Linked DNA regions of Homo sapiens: region 1 is linked to region 2. Evidence: promoter capture Hi-C in human tissues and cell types (Jung and others, 2019). All regions are on one chromosome and are shown on one strand. Each heading gives the region's core, a stretch centred on a gene start or on the middle of the fragment in contact. The rest is flanking DNA. Distances are from core to core; before and after follow the strand shown.

The links. The method cuts DNA at HindIII sites, captures the fragments that hold promoters and counts their contacts. A contact is called where the count stands out against the background at its distance.
Region 1: a fragment that was not itself captured here is called in contact with the fragment with the promoter of HGF in region 2 in 1 of the 25 tissues and cell types used here (H1 embryonic stem cells).

What each region holds. Positions count from the first base shown.
Region 1 is chr7:81,621,084-81,627,480 of GRCh38, reverse strand. It overlaps LOC100128317 (a long non-coding RNA gene), which reads left to right. Exons shown (of 11, transcript NR_126025.1): 2 at 2,255-2,329; 3 at 3,038-3,108. Among named protein-coding and RNA genes, the nearest start is that of HGF, 150 kb to the left of the region's middle. RefSeq lists an enhancer at 3,413-4,612. The HindIII fragment of the contact is 3,713 bases long and covers 2,031-5,743 here.
Region 2 is chr7:81,765,293-81,771,718 of GRCh38, reverse strand. It overlaps HGF (hepatocyte growth factor), which reads left to right and starts at 1,672. Exons shown (of 18, transcript NM_000601.6): 1 at 1,672-1,835. The coding sequence starts at 1,748. The HindIII fragment of the contact is 8,838 bases long and covers 1-4,963 here.

The sequences.
Region 1 (6,397 bases), core at 2,638-5,137, 150 kb after region 2:
TCAAAGTAGCATTTATCTATACTCTGACTACATTCTGTAACTATAAAGTAATAGAAAGTATTGATTGGATTCTCTTGAATTTCTGATTTTTAAAAAGGCACACATACATTTATGAAAGTAACTGAAAGCTATATACATAGGTTCAAAAACTTTAACATTCATCCCTTAAGTGCATGTGAAATAGTAAAAGCAAACATTTTAAGAAAAATGTAATTCACAAGACAGTAACTTGATATTTATGAATCTCACTGGCCTAGCAATTTTTCAAGATATTTTCAAATAGATTAGCTACATTTAAAGACTTTAAACCAGTGGACAAAAAAATAAATTTTCACATTAAGACAAGAATGGCAATAAGAGTGATTACTTGGGAAAATTCATGTTATTCATCTGAAAACTGATTTATAAGCCATACCAAATAAGTTAATTCTATGGGCTAATTCTTGAACATTAATTCTTCTGATACTTGGAAAAATAATTGTAAATATTTAATTTGTTAATATAATTTTAGAAATTTGATTTTATTTCCAAATAATAGTTAAAAAAATAAAAATTTTATGGTGATTATTTCCATATTCTGTTTACACTTTTCTCATATATTAAGTTGACAAACTAAATGTCAAGCTGTGTATGCAGGAGAGAGTGTCTTTCTTTACACGTTAGAAAACATTCAATAGTATTTTAAAAGAGGCAAGGGTATATTGAGACATTTAATTTAAATAAAACACAAAAACTATGCTTTTAAGCATAATGTAATGTAAAAATGCATACAAAAGCATAATATAATATCAACGAATTTAAAAAGAAAGAATTATGTTTTATGATAGTATAAAATATTCCTACTGAAAATGCTTTATAATTTTAAAAAGCTAAACTACTTAGAAAAAAATATAGAGCTGTAGAATTTTTAAAAATTAAATGTAGCATGAATTATGTAGCCCAAGTAGAATACAGATAGTCTTCTCTTTTATTCTCCCATTAGAAACTCACATCATATATAGTATTTCAGATTGAGATAATAGTAAAGTGAAAATATTTGCTATTTATCATTATAATTTACAAATTAAACAACATAGTACTATTAGGGGAAAATTGGAGAACCATGGCTTTTTTCTTTTCCAGATAACTTCGATAACTTCTGCCAGCCAACAGTCAATTCCAATGGATCATTTAAACAGTCTATGACTACTTTACATTCTTAGAACCCTGTCCAGCTCTGCAGTCTGGCAAAATAAGTTATTTCCCCAGTGATAACAAACTGGGAGAATGACTGGAGAGGTTTTGCAACAGGGCCAAGATCTCACAGTGTTCCTCTCTTTAAGTGGGGTCTAGGAGAAACCCAGATTTCCCTCAACAGATAATCATTGGTAAGAACAATATCCTGTATAATGAGGCCAAAGTGACTATGTGTAGTAGGTGGTGAATACTTAACTCTTTCAGGTAGTTTGAAGAGTGGGTGAAGTGGTTTTTTAAAAGATGAACTTTAATTTACTGAAAATTCATTGGAATATCTATGACAGATAAAGTAATCAAAAGATATCTAACAAAAGTTAATATTATCTAGAAGGAAAAACTAAGAAAACATATATGTAAATACTTTCCACAAAGAATGACATCTTAACTGAAATACTTGCAAGTGGGAAGACATAGGAGAAAAACAGACAATTGTTCTTGCATCAGTCTAATTACTACTGCAAAAATTAATATTCATTTTAGCATTTCTAGCTCCTTCTTACAGGGTCTATACATTTAAAATAGCATATGTGTATCACAGTGCTCAGTCTGTGAAAGTATTATAGTCTGGCTGACAGAGATTTTACTCTTCCAGGGGAAAAACAATACTTTTACTGCTCAAAACAGTATTTGGACCTTTTTTACTCATTTAAATGTCTAAAACAGGAAATAAAATTTTAAAATATCTTCTTGTTTTCAAAAGCTTCTCAGAAATCATAGAGTTAAACTAAAACAACAAATGTTAAGGATAATTTGGTTAAAGAAAACATTACTTTTCATGAGTTAAAATATAACTCCCAGCTTCTTAAAACAGAAATCTGTACTCTTGCCAAGATCATTTTATACTCTGTCACGTACACATTAGTTTGTTTTTGAAAAAATAAGAAAAGCTTTTCTGTTATTTTTATAAAGACATTTACAATTCCTGTAATATTTCAACCTGCTAATTGCAAGAAAATTTAGTAAAGCACACCTACATAATTCACATTTTGATAAGAAAATCTGAAATATCTGTTTGCAGTAACTATCAATGGCACGCCCGGAAGCTATGCTGTCATTCTGAATAGATCTGTTTGACTTATCACTTAAAAGTAAGGTAAGTTCCCTAGGCTCAAACACATACAGATGTTTAAGACTTATGGTACAAATTAGAGGGGGAAAATGGTCTTAAAAGAGCCAACCTGTTTAAAATGCAAACTTGTCTTTTAAAAATTTTCTCCTGGAGATTCAGCTCTCACCGAAGTTTTGTCTACATTGGTAATCATTCTCTATGAGATTTGCCAACGTTCACTGTCTATCCCCAATGGAAAGAAAGAAAATGGATGTTTTCCATCTGCAGCAAAATAGAGTCAAAACAAATGCATTTAAATTGGAAACATTTGTGGCTAAAAGAGCTGTTCTCTATGAAAACATCTGGTTGCACTTTTAAGTCATTGCCAAATAAACGCATGCTGGAAAATCTATTTTATGCCACACATGGTCACCCATGTAGATGTAGCCTAAACCTGTTTTTGTTTGAGGTCAACACCCTATTTTAGGAAGAAAAGTACAGGTTTGTGAGTGTGCACTGATTTTTTAACAATACTGCAGAAATGGCTATGGAAGTTTGAACATGTCTACTTTCTTCCAGATGGGGAACAGAGTAGGACAGACGTGCTTTTGATAGTTCTCAGGTAGACAATGCAAAATTGGAAATAATGATGGTTGTGGGACAGATCAAATAACTACTTACTTGTGAACAAAGACTGCTTGTGGTTTCTGATTTTAGCTAGCTCTGGCTGTTATTTTTTTCTTATTTACATAGACTCAGATAACTGAAATGACCTGAAGAGATGGTATTTCAGAATATTTGGGTGACCACATTTATTTGTTATGGTAAGTAACCCCCAAATACCAGTGGCTTAACACAACAGACATTTCTTTTTCACTCAAGCCTATTGCAGATGTTACTGTTTGATGGGTAGTTTTCAGCATTGTCATTTAGGGACCAAAGTTCTTTAAATTGTGTGGCTCTCCCAGTAAGTAGGGCTCAAAGATCACTGAAGATGGTTCTGTGTCTGATCATCACAGAGAGTTAATAGGCTCATTCTGGAGGTTTTTAGGTGACAGGCCTGGAATTGTGTACAGCACTTCCACATTCACTAACCACACATAAAGGACTCAGATGTAGCCGTGAATCAGGAAGAATAGGATATGGGTGTTGGTGAATGCAAAGTTACCTCTGCTACACAGAGGATTCTGAATACATAGAAAATTCTTCAAATATTAAAATACCACACTTGGTATTTTGTTACCTATATAATGCAATTGTCAGATAATGTCATAGTAGCTATTTTACAAATGTTACTGGCCTTTGCCTCTTCTTATCACAAAGGATATTAGCTGCCTAATAAAGTAACCCTCAGACATGTTTCTGAAAGTGTCTCACTGGCACTCATGAAGACACTTGCTATTGCCGTACTACCTTTTGTCTGCTAGGCAGCTTCTGGGTATCACTATCTCTCCTTTTTATTGTACCACTTCCAATGAAACCTACCATCTCCCAATGAATCATCTGCAAGATACTGCTGTGTCTAAACAGAATATGCACATTTGAAGGGAAGACAGCAGAGGCCCTTGGGATGTCCAGATTACACTAAGTACTGTTGCAAAATGTGGATGAAGCTGTTAGATGTGGCTCCAGGCATTGATGCTTGTCTCTCAGAAAGCTTCCCCCTTCTCCTTCACCTTCTTCCTGTAGCCCTTCTCTATATATGTCTTTGACTTGTCTTAGGATAAGACTTGTCTTAGGCTATCATAAATGTCTGAGCATGTCTAGGCATGTCTAAAACCTTTACACTCAACCAAGCCTACATATATATGGTTATATTTAATCCTTGCAACAAATCTAAGAGGTAGATCTAAACTATTATAATTATTATTGCTTCTATTTCTCTAATGAGGGAACTTAACCTCTATGAAATTAAGCAGTTTGTCCAATCTAGCAAAATTCTAGATCAGTTCTCCAAATCTAAAATTCAGGCTCTTAAACATTGCACTATTTTGCTTCCTTTAAGTTTCAGACAAGGCCTTTTACATTATTTTCATTAAATATGCCTCAGTTTTACATATTTCTCCATTCCTTTTCTCCTCCCTAAAATGTCTGTCACTCATTTTTACTGAAATTGGTGATGTTTAACTTAAAACAATCCCACGTTAGTGCTTTAATAGAACTCACTGAATCCTGGGTGGCAAATTTATACACGAATAATAAATGAGACATCCTGTATAGAATATAGGGATGGGGACTGTGTACTCAAAGAAGTAGCTACTGTTTAACTCGAGCCAATGGTTGTCATTTAGGAATGCATACTATGTATTGCCAAATCTTATGATTTTCCAAGGGAAGCTAGGAATTTGGATTTTTATGTGAAAACTGATTTTAATTATTATCATTTTGCTCACTTTTTTTCTTGGGAGGAAAATGGATTTCTAATCTGTAATACCAAAATATGGTCCCATTTGACACCCAATTATTATTATTACTATTATTATTATTATTATTATTATTATTATTATTATTATTGTCGAGATGGAGTTTCGCTCTTGTTGCCCAGGCTGGAGTGCAATGGCATGATCTTGGCTCAGTGCAAATTCTGCCCCGTGGGTTCAAGTGATTCTCCTGGCTCAACCTCCTGAGTAGCTGGGATTACAGGCATGCGCCACTATGCCCAGCTAATTTTGTATTTTTCGTAGAGACAGGGTTTCTCCATGTTGGTCAGGCTGGTCTCAAACTCCCGACCTCAGGTGATCTGCCCGCCTTGGCCTCCTAAAGTGCTGGGATTACAGGTGTGAGCCACCGCGCCTGGCTGACACTCAATTATTTTTATAAGTAGGAAGTAAAAAGGCTGCATTCTTCACGTTTGGTTGTACTCTAAATTTCATAACCATTACACATTTAGTAAGTCACTCACACTTTCATTTATTCACTCATTCATTCATGTAATTCATACATTCACATATTATTCCATTATTAACTGAATTCCATATTGTATGCAAGACATACAATATGATGATAGAAATGAATGATCTCTGCTTTCAAGGTGCTCATAATTTGAGATAGGAAAGAAATACATCAACAGGCAATTAAAATGCTTTTGAAGGGAGTGCAGTGATAATGGAAGGAATAATTAACTCCATCTGGGGATGGTATTTAATGATAAGTGGGAGTTGCCACAGGAAAAAGACACAGAAAGTGCAGTATACATAACCTAGGTGGTTTAGAACAATAGGAAGAAGTTAAAAAAAAATCTAAACGTTCTATACTGCTTGAGCAGAGATGTTATTGGGACTAGTGGAAAACCAAAATATATAGATTTACGAGAATATCTTATAGAACACATTATATTGCTAAATATGAACATTGATCATATGATCACATTATTAGCATATCATTCATATGTATATGTTTGGCTATTTTCCTCAAATACATCTTGAAATGCATAGACACCATAATAATCATCCTCATATACTGTGAGAATTGTCATAATGCAACTAATATACATGTATGCACTTCCTCATTAACATATTAGCAAATGGGTCTGATGGCTGCTTGCCTTAGAATGTTTATACTAAAATTAATATGTAATCGAACTCTTTTTAAAATCAGAGTATAAATACAATGTCGACAGTTAGCCTTGAAATCTTATATATATGATTGAAAACATCTTCAGTTTATATTGAGTTTTTAATAGTTTTATCAATATGATATAACATTTCTAAGCAAACTTATATTTCCAATAAGAGAAACTGTATAATTCACCCTTCAAAACAGTCATTTTGAGAGTGAAAGAACACTTGGTAATTATGCCAGGATAGAGTAGATGGTCATCTTACCAATAATCACAGCAGTAATTGACAGAAAGTATGTTTCAGACATCTACAAGTTTCTATAAATACTCATTGGAAAAATGTGAAATCAGAAAATAACTAACACTAGTCATACTGGGCTCGTGCCTGTAATATTTAAAAGAAAGGGCAGATTTTCTCACAAAAAAATCAAATATAGCTATATTTGGTATCAAGAAAATATCCACATATATAAAAAGCTATAGGATGGTGGGGAAAATTTTGGTGAAGTTTTAAGGAGAAGGAAAATAGAAATATACGGTAGGCTGTATGGTAT
Region 2 (6,426 bases), core at 423-2,922:
GGACACCAGACAGAGGCTGACAAATGATTTTTAAGTAAGGAGAAAATGATAAAAGAGAAGGATTAGCAATAGAAACGGGTCATATAAAATAGATCCCTCAAAAGGAATTCTCTTAATCCCTAGCTTCTCTAGATATCCCACAACCTCAGGGACTTATCAGGCAGGTTGTTTTTCCCTGAAAGTGGGGGTAAGGGAGCTGGAGGACAAATGAAGGTGGTATGTGGAGGGAAGGCTGTTCTGTGGATGAGTTTAATTCAGCCCCACAATCACTTCTGTACAGCTACCCACCGCTCTAGTCATTCCCACATTTGGCCTGCTTTCTTTTCCTCTGTGGACAGGGGCACTGTTCTCTACTAATATCCATCTCAGAGAGATACAGGGGCAAGTATCCCTCAGCATCCATTAGAAATAAAGCAGGCTCTTGCTTAAAGTTACCAGAGCATCCACCTCTGGGTGCAAAGACAAATTCTCTGAATCAAGTGAGGGGTCTGGGCAATGATCTCACAAGGATTTGATACCTAGGAGTCCCCCCATGCCCATACAAGCTCCTCATCTTTCCACTTACACTTTGGGAAGCTGGCTGTCGTGTACAGGCAGATGAAGCTGGAAAAGAGAGGCATATTCAGTACTCACGAATTCAAACAGCTTGAGGGATTTCCGGTGAAAGTCAGTCCTAACCAGTGTATACGTACATACACACCAACATGTGTGAATGTGTTGTGTGCACGTGTGTGCCTGTACAAGTCCACATGGCATATTTACCTGTCAGGGACAGGCTATGGACAATGACTGTTTCTTGGACTTTCTCTTAAAAAGTCAGATCAGACAAGTTTATTTTGTATACTTTGGGTAAATGTGTGGTATTTCGTGAGTTTGGCAGTTTGTGAAAAAAAAAAAAAAAAAAAAAAAAAAAAAAAGCTGCCTGCTCTGAGCCCATGGGGCAGGGGCAATTTTTTCATCTGACAATCTGCGTGCTTTTGTTTTGCTTGCTTATTTTGGCCCCACAATACCACACCCTTTTCTTAACTAACCTCTTTCTACCTGGGCTGGACGTGCCTGGGCTCTCCTCCCTGGCCCCGCTCCCACCTCTCCCAGGTCTCTAAACCCCTAGAGAACCTGTGTCAGTGTTTTGAATCCCTCAGTTGCTCTAGCAGGAAAACTAGACAGATTAGGAGCTGGGGCACATTTGGCTGAAAGACAGCTCTTCGCTTTCTTCTTATGCTGCTTCCCCTTCCTCTTTTCCCAAATAGATATATAAACACATGTATTTTCCTGTTTAAATTGAGCGAATTGGTCCCCTGCCTGTGCCTTGATTTAGCCATTGGGCTCAGCCTTGCTCCTCCCTTCCTTACTCGGATAGGAGCCACTGGGATCTGGAGCTCCAGCTTCCAAATTGAAGCTGGCCTCAGGCCAGGTGACCTTTTCTTTGTAAGTTTCTTTCCTAAGCGTGGGGTTGGGGGGAGGCGGGGAATGGGGGGGGTTGCAGGGATCTGTTTGGTGCTGTTGAAGGGGGGGCGAGTGAGGAAAGGAGGGGGCTGGAAGAGAGTAAAGGGCTGTTGTTAAACAGTTTCTTACCGTAAGAGGGAGTTCAGACCTAGATCTTTCCAGTTAATCACACAACAAACTTAGCTCATCGCAATAAAAAGCAGCTCAGAGCCGACTGGCTCTTTTAGGCACTGACTCCGAACAGGATTCTTTCACCCAGGCATCTCCTCCAGAGGGATCCGCCAGCCCGTCCAGCAGCACCATGTGGGTGACCAAACTCCTGCCAGCCCTGCTGCTGCAGCATGTCCTCCTGCATCTCCTCCTGCTCCCCATCGCCATCCCCTATGCAGGTTAGTTCCCTTCTTCTTCTTCATTATTAGTATTAGTATTTAACTCTCCTGCTAACCTTCCCTATTCCTTTTAACACCCTCTTTTTACCCTATTCCCAGCATCCTTTCTGAACTCAGTATGTAGTATAGGTTTCTAAAAGCTCTCATTATGCTTTTTTTGACATTCTTTTTTGTTGTTGTTTGAATAGCATTTAAAATGATAATTAACTTTCCCTCAACTCCCCTCCACCTCCAACCCAAGCCCCGTCCCACTTAGCCTAATAGTTGTGGATTATGAGATAGGGAGGAAGTGCTAATACTGGCTGAACTTGGCTGCTTTGGACAAGTTTAAAGCTAAAGAGAGGGTCTGGTCTGAAGAGGCAAGAGTGATGGTCAGTCCGGCAGGAAGTCATCCTTTTCCAGAGAACAATTTTTCATGATAATGCACTACTCCACATCACCTAGTCAACATTTGGAGCCAAATTACGACTTTGTACAGGTTTTCATTTTGAGGAGGCAGAATAAACTCTGAGTATTTGCATATCATAAAAATGAAAGAGAAAGCCTCTTTTTAAAGATCTTATTCTTTCTGGGTACGGATGCCTGCCCTTTGAAACTGCAGTGCACGGAGACTTTGATTAAAGCTGCAGAACTGCCCATCTCTGTCTCCCACTTTCTCCCTTGGATTTGCCGTTTGGGGAGGAGTTGCTTGAAAGTTCATATTGCTTGGAGATTTAGAGATCTCGTTTGCTGCTCTGGGAAGTTTCTCTTGTTATCAGGGCAAGAGGAAACATCTGTATTTTGTTGTATCATTGTAGAGGCTGAGGTGCCAACGGGAGAAGGCAGTGAATATCAAGGGTAGGCGCAGGGGAATAAAAGAGTGGGAACAAATGCCCAGATGGAGACATGGCCTTTTTACAATATAAAAAAGAGAACTGGCTGTATCTTTTGAGATGGTAAATATGACATTTATCAGACCTTTGATCTAGTTTTTGATATGGTACAAGGGTTAAAAAACTCAAGAATTTTCTAAATGCAAAGGAAAATCATTCAACCCACCTGGTTTTCTTTTATTTTGTGAAGTGGCCCGTTTGGAAAATGACACTGTTTGGAAAGGGTCACTCTGAAAGCATTTAGGTAAGATTTCTGAAGAAGTGAAAAAGCAGTGAGTTCAAATCAAGCAGGTTATCATGCTTGACATGTGTCATGTTAAAATCGCTTCACAGGGTCGGGTGCGGTGGCTCACGCCTGTAATCCCAGCACTTTGGGAGGCCGAGGCGGGCAGATCACGAGGTCAGGAGATTGAGACCATCCTAGCTAACAAGGTGAAACCCTGTCTCTACTAAAAATACAAAAAATTAGCCAGGCGTGGTGGCAGGCACCTGTAGTCCCACCTACTTGGGAGGCTGAGGCAGGAGACTCTCTTGAACCTGGGAGGTGGGGGTTGCAGTGAGCCGAGATTGTGTCACCGCACTTCAGCCTGGGGAACGGAGCAAGACTCCATCTCAAGAAGAAGAAGAAAAAAATGCTTCACAGATGACTGCTGGTTTAGGGGATTTTGAGCTTAAATTGAAATAATGGCTAATATTTTGAGGGTTTTCATTTTTAAAGATTAAAATGTCACTGTTCTTAAGTAGAATCTGGTTACCTGAATTCATCTGTGCTAACGCAAGGGGAACGCAGTGTGGAAAACCCAAACAGTAGATCAACCGTAGGCAGTGTCTATTTGTTTTCGGCATGCATTATGAACTTTTGGCAGGAGACATACATTTGTAATTATATTTCACTTTGCCTAATGTAGAAATGACTGTGTTTCCTGAGTACAGGCAGAATGCAGCCCAAGAGTGCTGGCAGGCAAGGAGAGTCCAGTTGGGAATTACAAATATGCTGTGAATAATTCCTGAAGTGGATAATTCTAAAATTGTCATCAAAGGAGGGTGCGCCTTTGTTTAGATGGCCAGTTTGATAGTTTTTTTTAATAACCTTTAAAATAAAAAATATGGGTAGCCTCTTAGAACACACAAAGTTTGTTCTTTTTTAAATGACATTTAATATTGACTATTTAGAGGTTTCTTTTGTTGTTACTAGCTTTGATTATAATTATTTATTCTATGAATTTATATTTGTATGTATTGTAAAATAACACATTGTTAGGAAAGAAGTATATACTGTAAGTTGACAACCAGTTATCAACAGAATACACTATGGAGATACTTTTTTAAAAGCTTAAGAAATATTCAATATAATGGGCCCCCGCCATCTTTGTAGGAGTTAGCCTATATAGAATTACCCTCTATTCACTCCCACCTACATGGGAAACAAATATCCAATCCTCTGTAATAAAAGAAGCATTAAATGAGCACCTAATATTCAAGAGTATGTGGGGGATGTAAAGATGAACAAATAAGAAAGGAACTTAAATTTGTTGAGCAACTGATATGAACCAAGTAGTAAAGTACATCTCACTTAATTCTAATAAGATTGGCACTATTGGACTCATTTAGCCGGTTCAAAGACCTCAGTTATCTTATTTCTTTGTGAGTTAAGGGACAGAGCTGAGATTTCTACCCAAATGTATGTGAATGAACTATGTGGTGTTTTTTTTTTTTCTTTTTTCATTTATATTGAAGCGAGCAGCAGTGAAATCAACTGAAATTTACTTAAAAAAAATCATTTGGCCAAGTGATATATTTTCAAAAAACCCTGTTAGAAATACTTTGTACTATGGTTGAGAGTTCATTTTCAGCATAGAGAATCAAACCAGGTGAAGGGGTTATATGGTACTGAAGTCCATATGAAAAGATGGATGGTAGAATAGTCAGTATCTTAGCACAGGATCACAAGTGGCCCAAGGTACAGAGGTTCGTAAGTATAAGGAATGTCCCAGGAAGGACCCCACACAGCAACTGAAGGCAAGCATTTGAGGCAGAAGTATTGGGCATGTGATGGGGAATATTGTCTGTGAGTGGAAAAGTAAGATGAGGTAGAATGGATAGGATTGAAGGTCATGCTCAACCATGTGGTCTTTAAAATGAATGTCATGCGAGCAGCTGAAAGTTTTTTTGTTGAAAATGTACTTGATTGAAGTTGTTCTTCAGTGTGGTTGCTTCAGTTCCTGTGTGGAAGGAAAGTTGTAGGCAGAAACAGACAGTGAAGGTGGAGGCCAGGATGAGGCTTCTAGAAGAATGAAACCTTAAATAAGAACTGGAAAGGAGAAGGAAGAAAATACCTAGGGAGGCCCCTCAAATCACACTGAACATCACTTCATTTTGTAAATCCCCTTGGAAGAGATGATGCTGCAGCTTCTCAAATATCAGCATTTGATTTACATCTGACACAGTCTCTGTCTTCTTGGTATCTTTATTTGTGATATTGTTGCCTTCTCTAAAGAAAGGGAGATGACTGCCGATTTGCAAAAATCCATGTCTTAGATAATAACAACGAAAATTTAGACTTCTATTTGAAATTCTTGGCTTTGGAGAGTTTACAATCTCCAGTCTCAACCATTCCCTTCCATTAATTATTTGTGTACTTTCATCTTAACATCTTGCCACTTGAATCTCTTCATCACTAATCATGTGGATAGGTTTCTCAGAATATGTGGAGCCAGATTCCTGCTTCTTTCCACACCCTGCAAATCCTTTCCTTGCATGATTTTCCTTTGAAGTCAATGGTTAGTCCACACAGAGAAGAAAATATATGAGGTACTGAGAGAAATGAGTGTGAGGTGCCGGGACCAGAGGGAGAAATGTGTCTTTCTTCAAGCACCTTGATACATTTGACCCTACTTTCTGTGTGTAGGTTTTCACTAGGATCCTAATGATTTCAGCTCTAAAACAGGGACTTCAGGTTCTTCAGGAAATATAGCTTCCAGAATGTTTTCCCATACTGGGAGAAGAGGAAAAAGGAGTTGTAATTTAAAGCACAGGAAAGCATGACAAATTTGTAGTGATCTCTCACCCTTTGATTTCATTTCAATATTTTGTTTATAAACTTCAGCTAACAGTCACGCACAAAAAATAGTAGGGAAAAATCTGATCCAAAGATATTTTTGAGTTTCTTCCCAAATTAAGCTTGGCTTTTAACTGTTTTCAGTAAAACAAGCATCAGTTGTTAATACATATGGAGGAGAAAGTTGAAACTATTTTCAGCAAAGGAATTTTATTTTCAGATGCTGTTTTTGAATGACTTCTGTTTTGAATTTTTCTTTTATTGTATAAGGAATTAATTTTATAGATGTGTGGATTACATGATGTACAATTAGCTCCAACTTCATATTTTTGAGTAATTAGTTACTGGCTTAGTATAAATGACTTAATTAAAAGGGAAAGTTTCTATGTCATGAGAACAAAATAGTGAGAAGAGAATTCTGGTGTCTGGTTCTGATTGCCCCTGATAGCTTTGTAGCCCCAGACAAGCTTTTCATTTCTATTTGTTATCTAGTAAAGGGAAATAATAGATTTATTTGTTTTTCAAAATGCTTTTCGATCTTTAGATGAAAGGTAGTGATTGGAAAATTTGTCAGCAAGCAAGGGTAGACTGTTTTTGTGAGGTACAACAAAACATTAACACATTTCAGTAGGACAATTGAGGAGATTTAGAATTAAATACA